3 separate regions of the Homo sapiens genome follow, and regions 2 and 3 are each linked to region 1. Evidence: promoter capture Hi-C in 16 types of primary human blood cells and fetal thymus (Javierre and others, 2016). All regions are on one chromosome and are shown on one strand. Each heading gives the region's core, a stretch centred on a gene start or on the middle of the fragment in contact. The rest is flanking DNA. Distances are from core to core; before and after follow the strand shown. Region 1 holds the start of SLC39A9 (solute carrier family 39 member 9). Region 2 overlaps MAX (MYC associated factor X). Region 3 holds the start of PSEN1 (presenilin 1).

Region 1 (4,914 bases), core at 955-3,454:
AGGCGCGCCCCACCGCACCCAGCTTGAGTTTTTTAAGTGAAGTTAGGTAATGCACGTAATTTTTTAAAATGCTATCATTAGATGCTGAGGGGTACAGATTAAAAAGGAAACAGAAAAAGAACAACAACAATTTAAGCATCTGTTCCATCTGGCTATGGGCTTTACTTTTCCTCAAACTGACAACACCTTGTCCCACCTTCTTTCCCACCCACAGGCTATTTTCACCTGTAATGTCTCCTCTTCCTCAGGTTTCTTCAAGGTGTACTTAATATTTCATTTATACCTTTCCTTTCTACTTCAGGCCTCCTTTGAAAGTACTTTCAGGAATGGCACTGAAACTAGGGCCTATTTTACTGCTGAACTCTAGGACAAACTCATGAAATCTTGTTCCCTTTGAATGTAGTAGTTTTTCCCCCCTAAATCTTTGAACGCTGTGCACTTCGTGAATTCCTTTTGCCTACCTAAAGGACCTATCAGCATGTTCACTGAACAGTGCTTTCATCTATCCCTCTTCCCGGGACCCTCGCTTAACATCTGTTCAAGGTGCCAATCAAATTAACGAAAATGTCAAAACGTATTAACCAAAAATTCATTGCTAAGCAAATAGATTTGAAACAACTTCAGAATATCAATTCCAAGGCTCCCCTTCTTTAAAAGGAAATGTGAGTTAAGAACAATCTTAGTTTTTTCTTACATTCATTCTAGTACAGACATCCAAAAAACAAAACAGCTTTCCTCAGAAAGGTGTGTTTGACTTTCTCAAAAGGAAGTTATCATATTGATTTCAGTTCATGTAGAAAAATAACATTCTCCATTTCTTTTTTTTTCTTTTTTGGAGACAGGATCTCACTCTGCTGTCCAGGCTGGAGTGCAGTGGCCCAAACACGGCTCACTGCAGCCTCAACCACTTGGGGTCAAGCGATCCTCCTGCCTCAGCCTCATTTGTAGGGACAAAGTCCCGCCACGTTGCCCAGGCTGGTCTAGAACTCCTGGGCCCAAGCGATCCTTCCACCTCAGCCTCCCAAAGTGCTGAGATTACAGGCGTGAGCCACCGCGCCCAGCCCTCCATTTATTTTCTTGATAACAATCTGGAATCTTGATTCCATGAAACCTCTGAGAATCAAAAGAAATGTTATGGTGCCTCTCTCCAGGTAAATGCACAGAACCTCAAATTTTTGTAAGCAATTCTAGGGGATTCAGAATACTCCAGGATCTTCCGTGGAATATCTATCCACCCCAGGTTAAGAATTCCACTAATGAATATGAGGTTTCTTTCTATTATTAAGTGTCATGTATCTTTTAAAAAAGATAGTCTTTCTTAATGAGACCTTCAGCTTTGAGATTTAACTAGGGAAGCAGCTTCCCTTTGCAACTAAAACTACTATCTCACAGCCATCCTGACAGCTGACAGAAAATTGAGAATTTCTTACCTCTGAGAAATTAACAGCCAAGGGAATGATTCCGGCCACGTAACATCCCACCAACATAGCCAGAGACAGCAGGCTAATGGAGATGAAATCATCCATTCTGCCCTCCTTTATTCACCCACAACCACTAGACAACAAATTTCCAGTGGCTTTAAATGGTGCTTAGGTTCTTTAAACAGGTGTGGTGGTTCCAAGAGAGTGGGCTTTCCAGTTCTTTAGGCCTTCCCACCAGCAGATGTGTTCACGAGGCACCTTCCTCTTGAACGTACCCGGCAACAGACCCTTTTTGCTGATATTAGCACCAGAGAAAGCTTACAGCAATCTAAGGTCCCAGGCTCTGGGTTCTCAGATGCCAGTCATTAGATTCTCGTGGGTTAACAGAGATGGGAAAAGTCAATGGGGAAAATGTGCGAATGATCGATTTCTTCGATTGTCGGATTGAGGGTGGCACAATGTCTTAGGCGGCGGCGGGTAAGTGACTCAAGCGAACCTGTTCGTTCCCTAGGCGCCCCTGTCTCCAAGAGGCGGCCCCGAAGGTGATCCGCCCCCCAGAGCAGGAAACCAGCCCACCAGTCCCAGCAAACTCTCCTCCGAGCCTGGGATGAGGAAAGGAGTCCTGCAGGTCTCTAACGATGGGTCCTAGGGGTTCAGCAGCAAAGTTGACACAAAGCTGTCTCTGCCCTATACCCGGTGCTGCCCATGGTACTGCACTCGACCGGGCCTTGACCCGGAGTCGCCGATACTACAGCTGCCATGGCCGCCAAGTGGCATCTCTTCATTCCATCCACTTCCGGATTGTCTAACCACCCCCTCCTTTACAAAGGCACTTCCGGGTTACAACCGACCTCCGGCCCAGGATACTTACGTTGCCGCCATTTTTGAGTAGGGCTAATGAAAGATGTCTGATGTCACTGTCTATACCGGTGATCACTTGAGCCGTATGTTTAATAACGAAAGTACGGAAGACAGCGTCTTGAAAAAAAATAATTCTTCCTAAAGCTTGGAAACTTTCCCTTACCTTTTTGCCTTTATCGAAGATGGCTGAAACAGAGTCAGTAGCTGCTCTAGCTGCCGGAAGTGACTGTGCCTCTATGATCCAAAAGGCTCTTTTGCGTTGCACTTTCGACGACTTCCGGCGGCTCCTCTCGCGAGGATTGGCTGTTAGCGGCGTTGTAGTTAAGCTCGTGTAACGGCGGCGGTGTCGGCAGCTGCTGTAGCGAAGAGAGTTTGGCGCGATGGTGAGAAAGGCCTCCGCGGCTACCCGAGTCCGAGTCCCCGGCCTCCAGAGCGACCCCAGCCCCATACGTTTTCCCCTCCCCACGAGCCCCATGCAGCGCCGCGTGATGCTCCCCGCCACTCTAGTCGGTGGATTGACCCTTCTTCCCGCCGCAGGGACGCCAGGCCTGACTCTAGGCCTCGGAGCCCCGGTCCGCCCTGCGGTTGCGCGCCCGCCTGCTCGCTCGGGTCCGGCGTGCCTTGGGCCTGAGGATGAACTCTCTCCCGATTGTTACTCGGTAGAGGGAGACGTGGGGGAGGTGTTTTGTTTTTTGAGATAGAGAGTCTCACTCTATCGCCCAGGCTGGAGTGCAGTGGCGGGATCTCAGACCCCTGCAACCTCTGCCTCCTGGGTTGAAGCAATTCTCCTGTCTCAGCCTCCCTAGTAGCTGGGATTACAGGCGCCCGCCACCTCGCTCGGCTAATTTTTTTATTTTAGCAGAGACGGCGTTTCACCATGTTGGCCAGGCTGGTCTCGAACTCCTGACCTCAAGCAATCCACCCGCCTCGGCATCCCAAAGTGCTGGGATTACAGGCGTGAGCCACCGGGCCCTGCCGGATATGGTATTTTTCCCTCCAAATGCTCTAGCCTGCTGTAGGAACAATGGGCCAGGGTTGTCTAACTATTCTCGAAGCTGACAGATCCAGCTATACCCAGCATGTGGGCCAGGAGAGGACGTATTTGCTTTGCAGTGTTTTTTCAGCTTTCGTTTTCCTGTGCTCTGCCTTTTTTTTTTTTTTCCTGTTTTTGAGACCTCTAGGTATTGCGTGTGGCGCGTCCCTCAGCCCTCGATCCTGTACTTATCTGTATTTATATCCTCTTGGGGCTGGAGGCTGAAAAGTAGGCTCAGCTCAGAGACCAGCTCTATTAGAACCCAACCGGGATGATCAGTAAGCTCCAATTCGAAGAAAGTGACCAAAACTGGCTTGAGAGGTGGTATAATCTGTAAAGAATTTGAGCAGGAAAGCATTGCCATTTAAAAATGATAACCACTTGACCACAGTTTTTAAAATGTATCATGTTATGTTCTTAGTGATTTTTAATCCTTGTCTTTGGGCAGTAAGTACTGAAAATAGTAAACTTTGCCCGGTGTTCATTTTAAGACTAGATATAAAAAGCAACATGCTGTATAGCTTTTTCCATTCTTACCCTTTCAAATTAGTCCTTTAATTTGCATTAGAATTGGAATACAATTATTATAGTAGCAGTTGAGATAGCTAGTGTATAGGGCAACCTCTGTTGCAAGAATGCACGTGGTTTCTACAAAATTATTTTTTCTTAAATGACTCGTTGAAACTTTTTGAGTAGCTAGCTTACAAAGACTTCTGTATAACAAATAATCTAATATGATGCTTTCTGTGGCTTTTAAATCGATTTAACAAAGGCTTTGACTGCTCAGGTTATTACAGGTGAGAGTTAATCCTTCGTCTCTTGTCACCAAGTTCCGTTTTTATGTCAAACCCTCTGAAACTTTTAGTCAAAGTGGTTTAGTTCTTGATGGGGAGAGAAGGGTATGATAACCCTTGGTTTTGCATGTCATGTTAAATGTACTATTTTTCCATTGTTTATTCAGAAAGTCTGGGCTTCAGCTATTTCTGTTCCAATTTGATGGTTAAAAATTCTGATCATTTTGTCCAGGCGCGGTGGCTCACGCCTGTAATCCCAGCACTTTGGGAGGCCGAGGCAGGCAGATCACCTGAGGTCGGGAGTTCAAGACCAGTCTGACCAACATGGAGAAACCCCATCTCTACTAAAAAGACAAAATTAGCCGAGCATGGTGGTGCATGCCTGTAATCCCAGCTACTTGGGAGGCTGAAGCAGAAGATTCGCTTGAACCCGGAAAGCAGAGGTTGCGGTGAGCTGAGATCGCGCCTTTGCGCTCCAGCCTGGGCAACAGGAACAAAACTGTCTCCAAAAAAAAATTATGTTATTCCAAAACAGTTTAGGGTTCCTGTTAGGAAATTTTTGTTTTCTGGTTTTTGGCTGAAAAATACTAGTACAGCAGAAGAGAAGGAAAAAGGTGAATAGTTTGATTTGGGACTGGATTTACAGTGGAGTTGCATCATACTTGCATTTAATTAACCTTACACATGTAGCAGAAAATTGGATGGGTCATATTTTCAACAGACCAGTGAATTCTCAGCTGGATGAGATTTTTTGCTCCCCAAGGGACATTTGTAACAAAGAATCAGTCAACCCAAAAGGTAATAG
Region 2 (4,914 bases), core at 1,400-3,899, 4.3 Mb after region 1:
GATGGTTCTGTGGATTTAGATAAGCACTAATTCCATGTCTTTGGAGTCTGAGACAGTAATATGGATGTTTCATGAATAGATTTGAGGGAAAAAAGAATACACACAGAATAAATCAGAATCAGCGAGGGGAAGAGAAATAAGTATATCAGAGTGTCTAATATTTGATAGTTGGGAGCAGTAAGAAATGTATAGAATGGGGGTAAAAAGTTCAAATGCCCATGAGGGCCATAAAGAATAAAGAAGGAAGAGGTGAGGGCTTGGGTACTGGAGAGCAGTGCCTCTTCTAAAAAGTCAGCACTACTGAACTCCAGTGGTTTGTTAGTAGGAGTGAAGGGTCAGTATTGCCAGATCTTCCTATTTTTAATTTTATTTTATTTATTTATTTTTGAGACAGAGTCTCACTCTGTCACCAGGCTGGAGTGCAATGGCGCTATCTCGGCTTACTGCAACCTCCGCCTCCTGGGTTCAAGCGATTCTCTTGCCTCAGCCTCCCGAATAGCTGGGACTACAGGCGCGTGCCACCACACCCAGCTAATTTTTGTATTTTTAGTAGAGACGGGGTTTCACCATGTTGGCCAGGCTGGTCTCGATCTCTTAACCTCGTGATCTGCCAGCCTCGGCCTCCCAAAGTGCTGGGATTACAGGCATGAGCCACCACGCCCAGCCGATCTTCCTATTTTTTAAGAAAGATTAGAAATCTAAAACTTTATGTTATTTTTCTGATTTTTAAAATGATGTGTGGAACAACTGTTTGGGGGCTTGTTAGAATTTGCAGGATGTCACTTTGATACCTCTGGTATAAGAACTTGATAACCACAGGGTAAAGGCAAGCCATCTCAGTTATACCTGCTCTTCATTAGAGCAAGCAAAGATTGTGCAGGTTGTCTAAGCAGATAGGCATTAAGAAAACTTATTTATTGAGAGCTGATATTTCCATAAAATCCGGGGATGTAGTTGTTCCAAAAGTCTTAAAAATTATCCCTGGGTAATAGTCATTAAAGATAATTTGTTTTATTTTATTTATCCTTGAAGTATTCTCATATACTTATGCATATATTTGAAAATTGAATTCCTTTTTCACATTTACTTTTATCCTTCATGTTTGGGGCCTAGTCTGTTGAAAACTTTTTTTTTCCCTGCAAGTCTCCAGTTGTAAAATCTGTGCTAGGGCTTGATCAGAGCTGGAGGGTAAGGATCGTTTAGCCTTCCTTTGCAGAATTATCCTTTGAATTGAAATTATACTGACTTCCCAGTAAGAGAAAGTTGTGTTTTTTTTGTTTGTTTGTTTGTTTGTTTGTTTTTTTGGTGAAATTTTGGCTCGCAGTTCTTGAAAGCTTTCTGCTTTTCAAAATTTTCATCCATATGATCGTTGATATAAATTTGTTATTAAATTATTATAATGTTTCTGCTTTCCTGGAATGCTAATCTCATTGTTTTGTCTAGATGTTTTTAGTTTGCTGTTAAGGTGCCTAGGATTTTTCCTTTTGATTTTGGGGGTAGGCAAAGGAAGTTGGTTTGACACTTTGTTTTTAATTTAACACATCTATTTGTTGATATTTCTAAATATTACTCTGCACAATGTAATTACAACAGCATGGAGAGAAAAAGCAGATATGTTATAAACAAATTTTATAGTATATCAAACAACTATTGTGACTGTGTAGGGTAAAAAGGATTCCATTTTTTCCCCTCTGTGAATGCATCTGCTTACTTCTCAATATTTAATATGGATAATAAATATATTTTTTAAAATTTAAGAGGGAGCTATTCTTAAGTTTTGCCTTAGAAAAAAGGTTTAAAAAAAGATGTGGACTGTGAACAACCAAATACTTAGGTATTCAGGACTACAGAAGATGTTGAAAAAGTTATTTGAAAAGGGTTCTGTGGATCCTAATATAAAAACATTCATGTATGTTTTATAATGTCACTACAATATATAGGCCTTACTACATGAGAAATGTAAGATACTGAGAAGAGAGTTAGGAAGTTAGGCTAACTCTAACAGAAAGTGAAACTGATTTGGCAAATATTTTTTTCTATTGCTTCAGTACAAACGGAAAACAGCTTCTCCAATGGCCAGTAAGCTTTGTTAAAGGAAGTAACCCCAAAGAGTATTCTTACTACTAAATTCAGTACATCGCAAAATCCCACTGATGTTATTTTTATTATATTTTGGAGGGAAGAGGTTGCATTTTAAAGATAAATTTGTGGGACAGGTATATTATATTGCAAGGGCTTCCTTTTGCTTTATTTCTGTTTGGGAAATTTCTTTAGGAAAGAGTGTAAGTATACAGGAAATGTATGGGTTAGTGTGTTGGTCAGGAAATGCAATTTTTTTTCCAGTGACCATCCTTGATGGCACCTGACTGAGTTGCAGTTGCAGTATACTTGTGAGGGGTTTGAAAACAGATTTGTGCAATTCCACTTCTGGACCTTTCTGGCATGAAATATTTTTAACTTCTCAGAGCTCTTTGCTTCTTTAGGAATATTCAGAAGAGAACGAGCTTGGTAGCCTCCGAGATTGGAATTCACTCAGGAAACTACTGTCTGTTTTACCTGCAGTCAGTTGCATGGCAAAAGTGCTGCACAATGCATGTACTTTTTCTCTGCTTAGAGTGTTGACAGTGATGCTTACAGTGATAACAAATGCCAGAGTTAGTTCCTAAATGTGCCTGTGTTAGGGTAAAAGTTGTTCTTATGTCTAAAAGAATTTTTCCAAGATGCCAGTAACGGTGAAATAGTTGGTCAAAGAATTCAGCTTGGTTTTTAATTAAAATTTCCTGACCAAGGCATCCTTCTCTGAAATGGCTATAGTATGAGGCCCTGTTTGGATTATAGCATTTGCCAGTTATTTTAGGCACCAAAAGAAAAAAGTTTGAAAACAAATACATACATTAGATAATGTTGGAAATGTATACCAGGCAATCAGCTACAAGCAGGACAGGTATTGGAAAATTGAAATCCATGTCTTTCTCTTAGGGAGCTTGGTGAGTTTATCCCATCCTACCTGCCTATTATTTTATGTTATAATTTTTGGGTTGATTAAAATGAATATTTTAAGTTGCTTAGAAATTGAGCTTTATCCTATCTTGTTCTTATCTATCAGAAGTAAGAAATAGATCTTTTCGGATGAGATTTTTGGGTCTGTGTATTCTCGTGTCCTTAGTCTCTAATAAGAATAGCTTGATAAGAATCATAAGCAACACAAGCTTCCCTCTAAAATACAACCTTCACATTTTGTAAAGGTAGTAAATATTGAGTGGGCAACTAATTCCCTATATGCTGAGAATTTTCTGTATTAGAATTGAGATGGTTCCCCTTATAGGTGGGGTTAGCTGTCAGGTAGCCTGTAAGACATGGCATTGTTCTGGAGAACCTTGTGCATCCTGGAATAATGAAGCATTTATTTCCCCGTGCTATTTGCCTAGAACTTGGAGGAAATAAGATTACTGACTGATGTGATGCCTTGAACAAAGATGCAGTCTCTCTGCAGTAAGTTGGAAGGAAATAATTTTAAGAGATTTCCCTCAATTTTGAACAGACCTCCTTAGCCTAGATGACTTCTTGCCAACATAGCAACTTCTTGGCTAACAAAATAATGTTTGTCTTCAACATCTAACAACACTTAAGATACACGTGCTTGGTAGTGTCAAAGATGGACAAATTGTAGGTGAAGATTTTTATTCTGTCTACCAGTGTGGAAAGTTGGGTAGAAATATAACTGAGAGGCTGAATAAAAACTTTGGCAGAGATGTCAAAGCTGGAAGTGATTTGGTGCGGGAGTTTCTGTTGAGCATCTGTGGACCACTGCATAGCCCCTTAGTATTTCTGTTAGGGATGCCCTGGAGGAAGGGTTTTCTGGCAGACATCCAGACGTACAAATCCAGCGTACTAGAAGAGTGGGCAGCATCCAGCCACTGTAACCATAGGATGTGTAGGGGAGATGTTTGGGAGCCTGCTGTACAGTCCAAGAATACCTCTGTGGTCTCCTAGAATAGGGCCTAATTAATTCCACAAGGGGGTTTTCCGTACCATTTGTTTTCATTACTGAACATCATTCTCAGTACAGGCTCATCTGAGTAGAGTTTTATTTGTTCAAGACAATTGTTTGGGCTTGTTTTTTAAAACCAGTTTTGCATTTGGGGGAGGATATTAGATGCCTTACACTGGGAGTCTTCACCCAGTTTTTCTTCTTCAACTCTGAAATCTTGGCCCTCTCAAAAAGGGTTGCCAGCAAGCAAAGACAGTTAACAAGGCAGTGATAAAGCCTGCAAACTAGTCCTCCAATGGGGGTGGGGATGAGGCGCGGGCAGTGTTATTGGTCTGGGTGGATCTGTGGTTTGGAAATGTTTCCCACAGAGAATTCTCAGCCTTGTGTAAAGGTTTTTCTGTTTTTCATGTGCTCTTTCAAAACATTAGTGATAACATTTAATTCACAGTTGCCTGGAATTAGGCTTGTTAGTTCTGCATGTTTTTAACTTGTTCTTTCAAATCAAGCTTGGGGAAGAGAAAAATACATCCTTGCCATTGTCTCTGAGAGATTTAAAATTGACTCCACTAGTAGCTCAGGGATGGACATGGCAGCAGGGATTGGTGTAAGATTCCACTCTTCTGCTAGTTAAATTGGGCCTGGAACCACTACAGAAATTCCATCCACTACTTTGAGAACAACAGTCCCCAGCCCAGGCTTTCTACCAGGCAGTGGACTGCTGCCTTTCCTTGTTGAGCCAACTTCTCAAACTTGGCTGGCTCCCCAGATGAGAAGCCAAGATTTCTGCTCATGATCTACAGCCAAGTTCACTTACAATCCTCCAACCGAGAGACTTGTCCATTTGAGTCCTTTCAGAGCTCAGTGAATGGGAGGGGGTAGTGCATTGTGGGGATGATTTTGGTGTTAGATTATACTTAGCTCCA
Region 3 (4,914 bases), core at 1,331-3,830, 3.7 Mb before region 1:
TGGTCTCCATCTCCTGATCTGGTTATCCACCCGCCTCGGCCTCCCAAAGTGCTGGGTTTACAGGCGTGAGCCGCTGCGCCCGGCCACCCAGCCTCTTTTTACATTTTTTTTCTTTTTTTCTTGACAGAGTCTGGCTCTGTCGCCCAGGCTGGAGTGCAGTGGCGCGATCTCCGCTCACTGCAAGCTCCGCCTCCCGGGTTCACGCCATTCTCCTGCCTCAGCCTCCCGAGTAGCTGGGACTACAGGCGCCCGCCATCACGCCCGGCTAATTTTTTTTTTTTTGTATTTTTTAGTAGAGATGGGGTTTCACCGTGTTAGCCAGGATGTCTCGATCTCCTGACCTCATGATCCGCCCGCCACGGCCTCCCAAAGTGCTGGGATTACAGGGGTGAGCCACCGCGCTCGGCCTTTTTTTACCTTTAAAAATGTGTTTATGGCTAGGCACAGTGGCTTGTGCCTGTATCCCACCACTCTGGGAGGCCAAGGCGGGAGGATCACTTGACTCCAGGAGTTCAAGACCAGCCTGGGCAACATAGTGAGGCTCCCATCTCTAAAAAAATAAATAGCCGGCCGGGCAGGGTGGCTCACGCCTGTAATCGCAGCACTCTGGGAGGCCGAGGCGGGCGGATCACGAGGTCAGGAGATCGAGACCATACTGGCTAACACGGTGAAACCCCGTGTCTACTAAAAATACAAAAAAATTAGCCGGGCGTGGTGGCGGACGCCTGTAGTCCCAGCTGCTGGGGAGGATGAGGCAGGAGAATGGCGTGAACCCGGGAGGCGGAGCTTGCAGTGAGCTGAGATCGCGCCACTGCACTCCAGCCTGGGCGACAGAGCCAGACTCCGTCTCAAAAAATAAATAAATAAATAAATAAATAAATAAATAAATAAATAATAGTATGTTTATTAGAAAATTTAAAATAGGGATAATCACCTTGTGGTTCTCCCAGTCTGCATGCTAATAAATTTGTATGCCTTTTCTCCAAAAGAAAAACAAAACAGGTTTTTTTTTTTTTTGAGACAGTCTCACTCTTTTGCCCAGGCTGCAGTGCAGTGGCATAATCTTGGCTTACTGCAACCTCCTTCTCCCGGGTTCAAGTGATTCTCCTGCCTCAGCCTCGCTTGGGAGCAGCTGGGACTACAGGCGCGCGCCCCCACGCCCAGCTAATTTTTTGTAGAGCCGGGGTTTCGCCGTGTTGTCTGGTCTCGAACTCCTCAGCTCAAGGATCCGCCCCGCGGCCTCCCAAAGTGCTGGGATTACAGGCGTGAGCCACCGCCCCGGGCCTCACATTTTATTTCTATTGGCTAGCGCTGCTCTAAATCTTCTGTTCCTTCTGCTACACCAGGCCTAACACTCAAAATCCCTGCCAACCTTTTCCTTCCTGAAGCTTCCCTCCCCTTCCTCAGCTCTGGCGACCCTGCGCTGTGGTGGTTCTCCAACCACACTCATTCTCCTCAGCTGGCTCCTTGCTCTTCTTCCACCCCCTCGTTGCAAGTGTTCCTAAGTGTTTGCCTTGGCCTCCTCTTCCCCTTCCTTAGCTTAGACTTCTCCACTGCTCCAACATCAACTGGAAATCTATGGAATTGATTCCTGTTTTCAGCTCCAGTCCTGTTCACAGGGCATTTTCACCTGCTGGCACTTCCAAAGTGACACTTCCAAACCACTTCCTCGCCCTCCTCTCTAAACCAGGTCTTTCTTCCTAACTTCCTTATTTCTGAGAATGTCTCTGCCATGTTCTAAACTGAAAACCTCCTAGTCAACTTCACACTTTATTCCCTGATCCTCAATTGGTTCCCATGTCCCGTTAGTGTTTCTTGTAAGCCTCTGCCACCACCGCAGATCGAACTCTAATCACATCTCACCTGAATTATGGAAAAGTCACCTCAATTCTCTCACCCATCCCAGCCTCCACTATGGATTAATATGCCTAAAGCAGAGCTGACCACAACGGTGAGAAGAATCTGAGAGGGAAGCAGCAGCAAACACAAGAGTCACTGGACATGCATGCCTCGAGACAGTCCCGACCAAGGAGAAAGCATCAGACCCCGTCTTCCGCCTCGAACAAGAGGCGTGCGGACTTCGCCCAGAATGCTCGTCGCCCCTGGACAAGGACACACCCGGGGCGTGAGGCGCGGAGTTTCACCAGTTGCTCAAGCAGACCCAGCCCAAGACGCTTCCTCTTTCTCCTACTCCACTCCAGTTCAGACGGCTACTAATCCCGGCCCAAGGCACCTGCGCCCTGAGACGTCTTCGAGCAAACAGCATTTCCGGACCAAGGCTCCCCGGAATCTCTCTCCACCCGGCCGCGCCCGAAGCCCGAGAAACGGGCCGCCCCTCCTGGTTTCCCACACGGGGTTCCCCAGCCCCAACCGGCCGCGCCCCGCCCCTCATCTTTTAGGACACCGGCTTCGCGGCCCGGGCGGCCACAAAGGGCCGGGCCCTGCCCGCGGCCGCCCATGTCCGCGGTGCCTTCCTGGCTTGCCCGGACTCCCCATCACGCACATACGCTTCCCCGCCGCCCCGCTGCCGCCGCGGCTCGTAGCTCAGGTTCCTTCCAGACCAGCCGCTGTTTTGTTTCCGATGTGAAACCGCGGACCCCGGAGCTGCCTGTCCCAGGCCCCGCCCGAGAACCCTCACCGTTGTCGTCATTTCCGGCTCTGGCGTCGTTGGCGGCCGGCCCACGGAGGAGGGGAGGAGCCAGGAGGAAGGGGGCGGGGCCTCCGGCCTGGAGAAACGATTGCGGGGAGAACCCAGAGCTCCACCTGGCCTTCCCCACCTGACGGAATCCGCCCAGAGCGCTGGCGTGGGTTGTCGGGGTTCTGAGGCTGCTCGAGCTGAGGACGAAAGCCCCTATATAAATTGGGCCCAGCGTGTGCTTCTCCCGGCATACAAGCGATGGCCATCCTAAATTTAACACCTGTCATTTCTTTAGGGTACCTATTTGCGAACCAGCTGCATCACAATCAAGAGAATGCTGTTAAAATCGCAAATATCTCTGCCCTCTCCCACCACTCAATGAATCAAAACTTCTGGTGGGTGGCGAGAACCTGAGAAACTGCATTTTAAACATCCTCCGCGATTCTTGGACTCCAACTTTGACAACCAGTCTTTCTAGGTGGCAAGCTAGCTGAGAGCAGAAAATGTGTCTGGTTTGCTGGGTCACTTGATTTTTGCATCTGCCTGCTCTTTGTCCAGTTTTGGTAAAGACAGTACCAATGTCTAATTCATTAGACAGCATACCACACTTACACATATATCCAAAAGCTAAAACTAAAAAATGAATACTACCTTATTTAATCAAGGTGAACGGAGAAATGTCAAACATGGGTATTCAAAAAACCGAAAATGAAATTAACGGTACATGGTATCTGGGCAAGTTACATTCTTCTAAAGTTTCTTTAAAAATCCACCCCCAAGCGGCCGGGTGCAGTCGCTCACGCCTGTAATTCCGGCACTTTGGGAGGCCGAAGCAGGCGGATCATGAGGTTGGGAGTTCTAGACCAGCCTAACCAACATGGTGAAACCCCGTCTCTACTAAAAATACAAAAAAATTAGCCGGGTGTGGTGGCGCGCTCCTGTAATCCCAGCTACTCGGGAGGCTGCAGCAGGAGAATCGCTTGAACCCGTGAGCTGAGATCACACCACTGCACTCCAGCCTGGGAGACAGAGCAAGACTCCATCTCAAAAAATAAAAATTAAAATTAAAAAATAAAATCCACCCCAAGCTATCCCTTCACATTCCTATCGCATCAATCTCCAATCCCTCCTCCCAACCCACTGCCAACCTTGTTCAAAAACATGAGATTCTAATACTTTTTACACACAAAAGCTTCATATTTAAGAACAAAAGTAATATTTTCCATTAGCAGAATGAAAGATAAGTTGTGGGAGAAGGTTGAACGAAAAAAGATGTTTTTAAAATTCTTCACCTCCCCCACTTTAACAAGAGTAGGGATTTTAGTTTGTTCATTTACAAGTGCTCATGCTTGTCAGCAGCACATATACATTTTACAAGTGCTGAGAACAGTGCCTGATACATAACAGTGCCTGATACATACAATAGTTCAGTATTGAACAAATACAGGCTAAAACCCATCTATTTGTGAACTACTTCAATCTGATTGCAGTCCGCTAATATTAATAGGATGTCTTAAAATGCTGATGAACTATTCTTAGAAACAATCTACAAAAATTTTGGGCAAAGATATTCATGGAATATTATATAGCAAAAAATTGGGAAACTAAATATGGTACAATAGGCAGGGTGCGGTGGCTCACGCCTGTAATTCCAGCACTTTGGGAGGCCAAGGTGGGCGGCTCATCTGAGGTCAGGAGTTCGAGACCAGCCTGATCAACATGGAGAAACCCCGTCTCTACTAAAAATACAAAAAAAGTTAGCCAGGCGTGGTGGCGCATGCCTGTAATCCCAGCTACTTGGGAGGCTGAGGCAGAATTGCTTGAGCCTGGAAGGCAGAGGTTGCAGTGAACCGAGATTGCGCCATTGCATTCCAGCCTGGGCAACAAGAGCGAAACTATGTCTCAAAAAATAAAAATAAATAAATAAATAAATAAATAAATAAATAAATAAATAAATAAATGTGGTACAATAAATTATGGTCCACCCACCTCACAGAATGTCATGAAAATTTTTCATGAACGCCTGGTCACGGTGGCTCATGCCTGTAATCCCAGCACTTTGGGAGGCCAAGGCAGGAGGATCACTTGAGGTTGGGAGTACAAGACCAGCCTGGACAACATGGTGAAACCCCGTCTCTATTAAAAATACAAAAATTAGCCCGGCATGGTGGTGTGGGCCTGTAATCTCAGCTACTCAGGTGGCTGAGGCTTGAATCTGAGAAGGAAAGTTTGCAGTGAGCCGAGTTTGCACCACTGCACTCCAGCCTGGGAGACAC

Evidence for each region. The method cuts DNA at HindIII sites, captures the fragments that hold promoters and counts their contacts. A CHiCAGO score of 5 or more calls a contact.
Region 2: a fragment that was not itself captured here is called in contact with the fragment with the promoter of SLC39A9 in region 1 in 2 of 17 cell types (fetal thymus and naive CD4 T cells); the score reaches 9.3 in fetal thymus.
Region 3: a contact is called between the fragment with the promoter of PSEN1 here and the fragment with the promoter of SLC39A9 in region 1, in 2 of 17 cell types (naive CD4 T cells and naive CD8 T cells). The highest score is 9.1, in naive CD4 T cells.

Annotation. Positions count from the first base shown.
Region 1 is chr14:69,395,982-69,400,895 of GRCh38, reverse strand. SLC39A9 (solute carrier family 39 member 9) reads right to left here and starts at 2,204. Exons shown (of 7, transcript NM_018375.5): 1 at 1,431-2,204. The coding sequence starts at 1,526. It overlaps ERH (ERH mRNA splicing and mitosis factor), which reads left to right and starts at 2,597. Exons shown (of 4, transcript NM_004450.3): 1 at 2,597-2,665. The coding sequence starts at 2,663. RefSeq lists enhancers at 1,912-2,251, 1,180-2,379, 2,581-3,088, 3,089-3,597 and a silencer at 2,348-2,588. The HindIII fragment of the contact is 688 bases long and covers 1,741-2,428 here.
Region 2 is chr14:65,095,922-65,100,835 of GRCh38, reverse strand. All of the region lies in intron 2 of MAX (MYC associated factor X), which reads left to right. Among named protein-coding and RNA genes, the nearest start is that of MAX, 4.1 kb to the left of the region's middle. The HindIII fragment of the contact is 1,125 bases long and covers 2,087-3,211 here.
Region 3 is chr14:73,134,173-73,139,086 of GRCh38, reverse strand. It overlaps PSEN1 (presenilin 1), which reads right to left and starts at 2,580. Exons shown (of 12, transcript NM_000021.4): 1 at 2,504-2,580. RefSeq lists an enhancer at 2,121-2,230 and silencers at 2,401-2,460, 2,721-2,800. The HindIII fragment of the contact is 2,442 bases long and covers 1,391-3,832 here.